Regions from separate parts of the Homo sapiens genome. Here region 1 is linked to region 2. The links are contacts of gene promoters, found by promoter capture Hi-C in human tissues and cell types (Jung and others, 2019). All regions are on one chromosome and are shown on one strand. The core of a region is centred on a gene start or on the middle of the fragment in contact, and the rest is flanking DNA. Distances in the headings are between cores, read along the strand shown. Region 1 has its middle 36 kb from the start of LINC00488. Region 2 holds the start of DPPA4 (developmental pluripotency associated 4).

Region 1 (4,543 bases), core at 1,288-3,787, 120 kb before region 2:
ATTTAGACTGTTAATTTCAGTCCCTCTATACATGGGTATTTACTCCAAATGACCTATCACATTGAATAAAGATTGTTTTCTAAGACATTTTTTAAAGCCTCTCACTAGTGTCTACTGAATTGGTGGTCAAGTACTAAACCATAAAAATCATCCATTAGAAGCTGGGAAACATACAACCCAAGATGGAATAAGCTTGGTAATCATTTTGACAAGGGTGAAATCGAAGTAAGAAACCTTGCTTAATCCACTGAACCGAATGTGGGGAAGTGTAATAAAGACACCGCCCTCCAGCACTGTACTCAACCAGATACTTCCGTCTGGGTTGGAGGAAATGGAACCACCAGAAGCAGCCTAACTCATGGCATGGTGGTCTGTACTCAGCTAAGCTTTGACAAGCTGGCACCCAGTCCTTACTTGGGCACAGGCACAAATCTAAAATCCGCTCTTAGGCACAGATGCATTGGCATGAAATCTGTCCGTAGGCCCAGGAACTGGGACTTTTGGATACATTTGCATAATATATCATTCCAACAAAGTAATTGAAACTGTGGGGGGTGGGCAAATGTGATAAAATACAGCAGGCAGAGGAGGAAAAATTCAGACATTGTTGGCATCAGACCCACAGTCTTAAGAGGGAAAAAAAGTATTTTGTGTAGAAAATTTCTGGAAGAATGTATGCCAAATTGTTAATAGTAGTTATCTCTTAGAGAAATTATTGTTAAAGTTTTTTTTTTGAAATTGCACATTTCTATAACTTTTTTAAAGCATATATTACTTATGTGATCAGAAAAAAAGAATTGGAAAGCAAAAAATGTGCCACACCCATAATTTATTTGCCAGCAATCAATTCCCAGTTCTTCACTTATAGACCACTGAAAAAGAAATCTGGAATTTCTCCTTTTTGATATACACTTGCAAGGACCAACCTGTCAACCCCTTTACAAATGTTAAAAGATTCCTGGTCTTCTTTATGGAATAAACTCCCCACTAAGTAGATTTGCCTAGTATTCAAGGTGAGGTTGAGTCATATGTATAAATAAAGACTTTTAGTTCATCTTCAATAAGACAGAATGTTCTTTAAACCAACGGTACTGGAAGCAAATAATTTCATTAAAAAAAGTTTGGTCAAAATATTGAATGGTGTTTTTCACCTGCCACAGCAATTAAAATGCCTGTAACAAAATACCATTGAGATAAATTATAGTCCTTTGTTCAGAGCTCATCAGAAAAGATCTAATTTATAGCATTGACTATAACTTGTGAAAAAGTCTCTGTCTGAAAGCTAATACCATGATAAATTTTAATCATGTAGATAGAACTAGCTTCAAAGCCGTATTAATTATACATTTAAGCTCTACATACAAACTCATACATCACAGTACACCCAGAACATGTAAAATACAGTCTGAACCAAATTAAAATATGCCAATTTCCTCAGCAGTTATTTGCTTTTGATATACTGTAGTTATTTCAGTCCAGTCTTTATAAACATTAAATTACTGCTGTGTTTTCTTAGCCATTTTGCTTCCTCAGAGAGAACTCTAAGCTCTGGTTAACTTTCTGATTTTATACTTCTGCAGAATACAAAGTGACATCCAGAATGCCTTTCTTCATCCAAGCTAAGTAAAAAGGTTAAAAGTTGCTAGCAAGTTTTACCTTTCCACAAAGTCTACCAGCTGTGCCCACCACCCACCACAATTCCTACTCTCACACTCCTATTACTCTAGTTTTTCACCCCAGCATCACAAATACAGGTCAAGTCACCAGAGTCCCATAAGTATAGGCATATATTCCCTGCTTCAGAAATGGCTTCACTACCACTACTGAAAGCAGCCAGTCAGCAAACTGTTAGCAATCTGTGACAGGATAAGGAGCTGTGCCAGATGTGAATGAACATACTGCTTCCTTCATTGAGAAAGTCTTTTTACAAAGAAAATATGAGCTGAACTGAATGGCATGCTTAGTGTTGTAGTGAGAATTGTATATATGTAACATATCACAGTGATAAATAAAAATAAAAATTTGTAGATTCAAAATTTAGTTTTTTTAATCTCTCCTGTCTTTAGTTTCCTAGTTTCCTTCCCTAAAGTAACCACCTTTACCACTTTATAGATATTCTATGCATATGAAATTGTGTGTGTGTAGAACAAAAAAAAAGTATTATATACAATATTCTTTACTCTTTTAACATTGCATATTGGATATTGCCCCAAATCAATACATATAGAGTAGCTTTATTCTTTATGAAGGTTGCATAGTTTCTCATGCCATGCCTGTACATAATTTATTTATTTTTATTTTTTTATTTAACCAGTTCTCTAATATTAATATTTCTGCTGCCTTCAATCTTTTTGCTACTCCAAGCAATGCTATGATGAATATACTTTTAAGTTTGTCATTTAAGGTGTGCTGAGTATATAAGTAGGTAAACTCCTGTAGTAGAATTGCAAGATCAATGGGTATGTGCATTTGTAATTATGATAGATATTGTTAGATAGCCTCTTACAGAGTTTACACCAAATTGTATCCCCAAAGGCAGCGTATAAGATGCTATTTTCTTACACTCTTTCAATACAGTATGCTATCAAATTTCTTTTTTCTTTGCCAAATTGACAAGGGAAAATGGCACCTCAGTATAGTTTTAATTTTTAATTTTTATTATGTATAAAGTAAATACCTTTGCTTATGTTCAGACCCATCTGTATTTACTTTAATGCAAACTATTTTATACTGTGTTCATTTTTTATTGGATTATTGGTCTTTTTCTTACATATTTATTTGTATATGCTGAGGAACATACCCTTTGTTCTATGTCATGAGGTGCAAACAAATATATTTTCCTGGTTTGTCATGTCTAATTTGTCTTTGCTTAAGGTATTTTAATGCCATGACAATTTTATTGTAATTATATGTGGCCAAATTAATCAACTTTTTCTTTTATGATTTCTTAGTTTTGGATTAACCTTAGAAAAGTCTTCCCAATACACACACATACGAACACACACATACCCACACACCTATGTGTATACATATATAGTATTTTCCTAGTATACTTATATTTTAAGTTTTCTTTGTACATCTTGGAAAAATCTGGAATTTTGTTGTAAGTAATGAGGTAAGGATCCAAAATTAATTTTATTTTCCAGATAGCTATCCAGTTGTCCCAATACCATTTATTATTAGTTTGGTGCAAGAGTAATTGCCATTACATTGCTTACCCTCTGACTTTCTATCCCATTCTTGCCATATATTAACATCTGATACATATTTGGATCTACTTACAGACTGTCTTGTTTATTCCATTTATCTGCCTGTCAATTCATGCAAAAATTAATGTAATTATTATTATATTAATGTAATTACAGTAGTGCTATATTTTAACATTTGGGTGGGTAATTAACTTGCTACTCCTCTTTTTCAAGAATTTTCTTGATGTTTTAAAATTTTCTGTATGAATCAACACTTCCAGTTCCAAAAACAAATGCATAGATAAACAATAAATACTCTTACTGTATTTATTGGTACAGTAAGAGAATTAAGCTTATTACTTAAATTAGGAAGAACTGACATGTTTATAATATTGAATCTCTGTATTTAAGAAAATGTATGTTTTTCCATTCATTTGTGTAGATTTCATACACTTCTTGTTACATTTATTTCTAGAAATTAATTTTTGTTGCTATTGTAAATGTGATGATTTTTTTCATTATATCTTCTAATCGGTTATTGTCTGTACCTAAGAAAGCTGTTGATTACTCTTTATTATTGTATTCAAGTAGTTATGAATTCCCCTACTGTTTGCTATAATTTTTTAGTTTATTCTTTTGTGTATTCCATGTAAGCAAGTATAACATTTGCAAAAACAATTTTACTTTCTTTTTTCAAACATATATATAACTCATTTCTTTTTTCTAATTGCATTGGCAAGTATAGTCAGGACTATGTTAATAAAATAGTAGAGATAGTAGACACTCTGGCTTCTTCTTGACATTAATGGAACAACATAAACCCATTTTAAGCTAATAGTCACCATCTAAAAGCTAGCATCATATTTAATGTGTTCCCAGTGTGTTTTAATTAAACATAATGCTGGCTTTTAAAAAGTGACTATTAGTTTAAAATGTGTCCATAAAGTCTTTAATTGATTGAGGTTTTTTCAGTGCTTGTTATATTATGATTTATATTATATTATACATATGATTATATTATTTCTCTTATTTGTTCTTCTCATAGGTGAATTATATCAACAGAGTTACTAATGTTGAATCAATTTCCCCATTCCTGGAATAAGCCAATACTATTATCCTCACCAATGCTCAGTCATTGTCTCGGGGCGCAAAGCAGGGGAAGAAAGTGTGGTTTTTTCATGAACACCAAGTGGATCTAAAAGGGTGGCATCCAGAGGCTGTCATCAACTACGCTCCTCATAGCAGCTTCTCTTAAAGGAAATTTGAGCGGCACATTTCTGCAGCCAACACATGAGTCAATAAAGCACTGGAAGTCAAAAAACCTGAGCTTCAGAACAATGACTTCCAACCAGCGG
Region 2 (4,287 bases), core at 450-2,949:
TATAAATTAAAATTTAAATATAAAGGCTAGGCTCCGTGGCTCACGCCTGTAATCCCGGCACTTTGGGAGGCCGAGGTGGGCTGACCGATTGAGGTCAGGAGTTCGAGACCAGCCTGGCTAACATATCGAAACTCAGTCACTACCAAAAATACAAAAACTACCTGGGCGTGGTGGTGCGTGCCTGCAATCCCAGCTAATCGAGAGGCTGAGTCAGGAGAATCGCTTGAACCCGGGAAGCAGAGGCTGCAGTGAGCCGAGATCGGCTACTGCACACCACTCTGGGCGACAGAGTCAAACTCATTAAAAAAAAAAAATTAATATAATAAAATTTCTCCTAAATCTAAATCCTTTTCTTCACTTTCAGGGTGGATTACTGGACAAATTAACATTTGTATGGCATTTTTACATCTCTATAGCAGTTCTACATTTTGATTTGAAATTTATATTTGCATAAACCTTACAAAAAGTACTCACTTTGGACCTCACAAAAGACTTAAAACCGAGACAGTTAAAAATGACCCAGTTCAAGTCAAGAGGACCTGAGAGCGCTCGGATATGGCCGTTCAGTGCCTGTGCAACGTCTTAAATCCTCTCTTCCTTCAGTTTCTGTCTGCATTGTTCCCAATGTCTGGCTTCTGATTACTCCTAGGTCCTAAGGACGCTGGGAAAAGGGGACGAATTCATTCTCAGCACCCTCGGTTTAGGATCTGTGTCCGTCTAAAGGAAATTAAGGGGTTTCATTCTTTTCCAAACTCAGCTCAATTACCTCTTCCTAAAATCTTTCCTTTAACACCCTTTTCTCCTGTTACCATTTCCCTCTAGCCCCCATATTCAGTTAGTTCTTTCTGACAGGACTAAGCACCTCTTCAAAACAGAAAACCCGGGCCGGGAGCAGCGGCGGGCGCCTGCAGTCCCAGTAGCACTTTGGTAAGCCGAGGTGGGAGGATCGTTTGAGCCTGGGCGGTTACAGTGAATAGTGATGGTGCCACTGCACTCCAGCCAGGGAGACAAAAGTGAAACCCTGTTCCAAAACACAAACCTGAAAACCTAATTTTTTAACTTTTTCTTTTGAGGTGGAGTTTCGCTCTGGTTGCCCAAGCTGGGGGTGCAATGGGGCGATCTCGGCTCACCGCAACCCCCGACTCCCGGGTTCAAGCGATTCTCCTGCCTCAGCCTCCCGAGTAGCTGGGATTACAGGTGTGCGCCACCACACCTGGCTAATTTTGTACTTTTAGTAGAGACGGGGTTTCTCCATTTTGGTCAGGCTGGTCTCGAACTCCCGACCTCAGGTGATCCGCCCGCCTCGGCTGCCCAAAGTGCTGGGATTACAGGCGTGAGCCACCGCGCCCGGCCTCTTTTTTTTTTTTCCCCATCTTTTGACACACTCAACCTCCTCAACTAAACCTAGAAAACCTCATTTCTTACTTGTCTGCTCACTCCAATATACCAGGCTGCAATCATATTCTTGGGCCTTACTCTTAAAATAAAAAAAAAAAAAGTCAAGAGGAGAAAATTCGAAGGCACATTCTTTTCTCCTTAAAGGAAAAATCAGGAGTGCCCAGGGAAGACAGAAACACAAAGACAGACAGAAAACAAATCCACTAAAACTGTACTGACCTCCTTGCCTTTTGCCTTCTCCATACTTGTAGAAGAAGCGGAGCCTCGCAACATGCTTCCAAAATGGCCCCTGCCCCAAGATTGCTATTTGCAAAGTCTCCTCCCACTTCCTGCCGCCCGAAGACCCTTTTTCTCTCCACCTCACCTCTTCTTTTCTTCTCCCCTTCTGTTCCCTCCCCCACAATTTGTAAATGCTAAAATTGCATTCTTTCTTATTCATGGGGTGACTTTTGTCTGGGTTGAATTACTAATACTATTCCTGGCCCTTTTCTGTTCACTTTAAATGTAATTATCCAAAGTATGGTTCCGGAGACATTGGGAGATTGAGCACTCCTTCAGAACGATTCTACGGGGAAAAAAAACAAAAAACAAAAAACAAAAAAACAGTGGCCAGAGACTTGAGCAGGATGTGTGAAGGGATTTAATAATGGAACTTGTGGCAACAGTAGACTTCAGAGACCAGACTGGCGGCTTGAAGAAAGCTATTTTCTCGTACCAAATACATTCCATTTCCTAAGTAAGTTACTCAACCAACTAAAACTCCAGGTTTCTCTGTACTAATACCGAGCATCTTTTCATCTGCCAACGAACTAATAATAGTAGCTTTTAAAGTCTATAGAGTATTTGTTATTTATTTTGTAGAGGGCAAGTGGGGGGGTCTGGCTATTTTGACCTGGCTGGTCTCGAACTCCTGCCCTCAAGTAATTCTCCAGCCTTGTCCTCCCAAAGTGTTGGGATTACAGGCGTGAGCCACCACTCCCCGCCCGAGTATTTTTTTATATCTCAAATTGTGAGTTTTAAATTCAGTCATTATTGTTCCCCATTTTATATATGACTAAAGTTGGTATAAATTTTTATTGGTAACTTTTTCAATAGCACAGTAAGTGAACCCCTAACCTACTGACTCCCAAAGAAGTTCAAGTTTTTCTCCTTAAAATAATTTGAAAAATCTTTCCTCAGATCAGTGCTCCCTGTCAGATTGTCAAGAGATGTGAAGTGAAGGAAGCAGTGGCTGTGCGACTGAAACCCTCCCTTGTCAGGGTCCAAAGTCTCTTTTGTTCTTTGGTTTACTTTGTTGTTTTTTTTTCCTACATCTCATTGCTTGTCCTAAAATGATAAATAAGAGACTGTCTTTATCCAAATGGTGTTAGTAATCTGCTCACAGGCTAGAAATCCACGGACAGAAAAAGTAAGTAAACGGAGCCCAGGAATAGAGAAGGAAGTGCAGGTTGTGGACTGGGCAACCCCCAAGGCGGCAAAGAGGAAACCAGGTGAGTTGAGGTCATCTGGGAGATATTAGGGCTTTGATTTAACAATTCTTTACCACAGCCTTTGGTAACCACCAGTAGGACTTTCTAATTAAGGTTTGTGTATAAAGTGTATAACTGAATCATCTTTCTTTTGTCAGTGTAATTGAACGTAACATTCAGAATAACTGGAGTTCTGGGCTGGGCATGGTGGCTCACGCCTGTAATCTCAGCACTTTGGGGGGCTGAGGTGGGCAGGTCACTTGAGTTCAGGAGTTTTGAGACCAGCCTGGCCAACAATGGCAGAACCCCTTCTCTACTAAAAATGCAAAAATTAGCCGGGCATGGTGCGTGCCTGTAATCCCAGCTACCAAGGAGGTTGAGGCAGGAGAATTGCTTGAGCTGGAGAGGCAGAGGTTGCAGTGAGTCAAGATCGTGCCATTGCACTCCAGCCTGGGTGACAGTGTGAGACTCCATCTCAAAATAAAACATAAAATAAAAATAAAACATAAAAACACAGACACCAAATCCAGGCCAGATTGATTCATTTTTAAATGTAAGGCTTTAGCAGCTAGCCAGACAGGATTTAAACCCAACCTCCCCTTCACTAGCTGTGTGACCTGGGCAATAACGTTAGGTCTCTTTGTTTTCTCATCCATGAAATGAGAGTCATGAAAATAATAGCCTTTACTTAGAGGGTTGTGGGCATGTCTGGAGAAAACAGTGTCTGGAGAAAACAGTGGCTGGCACAGCACATGTTGGGATCAGAAGAGCAGGGCGTGGTGGCTCATGCCAGTAATCCCAGCACTTTGGGAGGCAGGAGAATCGCTTGAGCTCATGAGTTCAAGACCAGCCTGGGCAATATAGTGAAACCCCATTTCTACCAAAAATACAAAAAATTACCAGGCGTGGTGGCGCAGGGGTGCCAGCTACTCGAGAGGCTGAGGTGGGAGGATCGCTTGAGTCCAAGAGGTGGAGGTTGCAGTGTGATCATGCCGCTGTACTCCAGTCTGGGTGACATAGTGAGACCTTGTTTCAAGAAAAAGACAAAAAAAAAAAAAAAAAAAGAGTTGGAGAGGAATGAATTTGAGAGATTTAGGGGTATTCTGGTTGGGTTTTCTTTTATTTTTCCTTTTCCTTTTTTTTTTTTTAAGAGGTCTCCCTATATTGCCCAGGCTGGTCCCAGGTGAAACTCCTGGTCTCACATGATCCTCCAGCTGTAGCCTCCCGAGTAGCTGGGACTAAAGGCCAGCACCCCTAAGCCCAGCTTTTTCTTTTCGCTTTCTTTTTTTATAAAAAGTTTTTTAATTGTGTAAAATGAACTGAATTAATGAGTCCTTTAGTTTACCCGGAGGCAGTGAGTCTTCCAAAGTCATTAATCTGCATCTGCAGAAAACAAACCAGCATTGATTCATATGTAACA

Evidence for each region. Contacts are between HindIII fragments. The study calls those that stand out against the background at their distance.
Region 1: a contact is called between a fragment that was not itself captured here and the fragment with the promoter of DPPA4 in region 2, in 2 of the 25 tissues and cell types used here (H1 embryonic stem cells and mesenchymal stem cells).

Annotation. Positions count from the first base shown.
Region 1 is chr3:109,211,662-109,216,204 of GRCh38, forward strand. No RefSeq gene overlaps it. Among named protein-coding and RNA genes, the nearest start is that of LINC00488, 36 kb to the left of the region's middle. The HindIII fragment of the contact is 5,873 bases long and covers 1-4,543 here.
Region 2 is chr3:109,335,847-109,340,133 of GRCh38, forward strand. It overlaps DPPA4 (developmental pluripotency associated 4), which reads right to left and starts at 1,700. Exons shown (of 7, transcript NM_018189.4): 1 at 1,618-1,700. The coding sequence starts at 1,671. RefSeq lists enhancers at 1-588, 589-1,197, 1,198-1,805, 3,024-3,631. The HindIII fragment of the contact is 13,883 bases long and covers 1-4,287 here.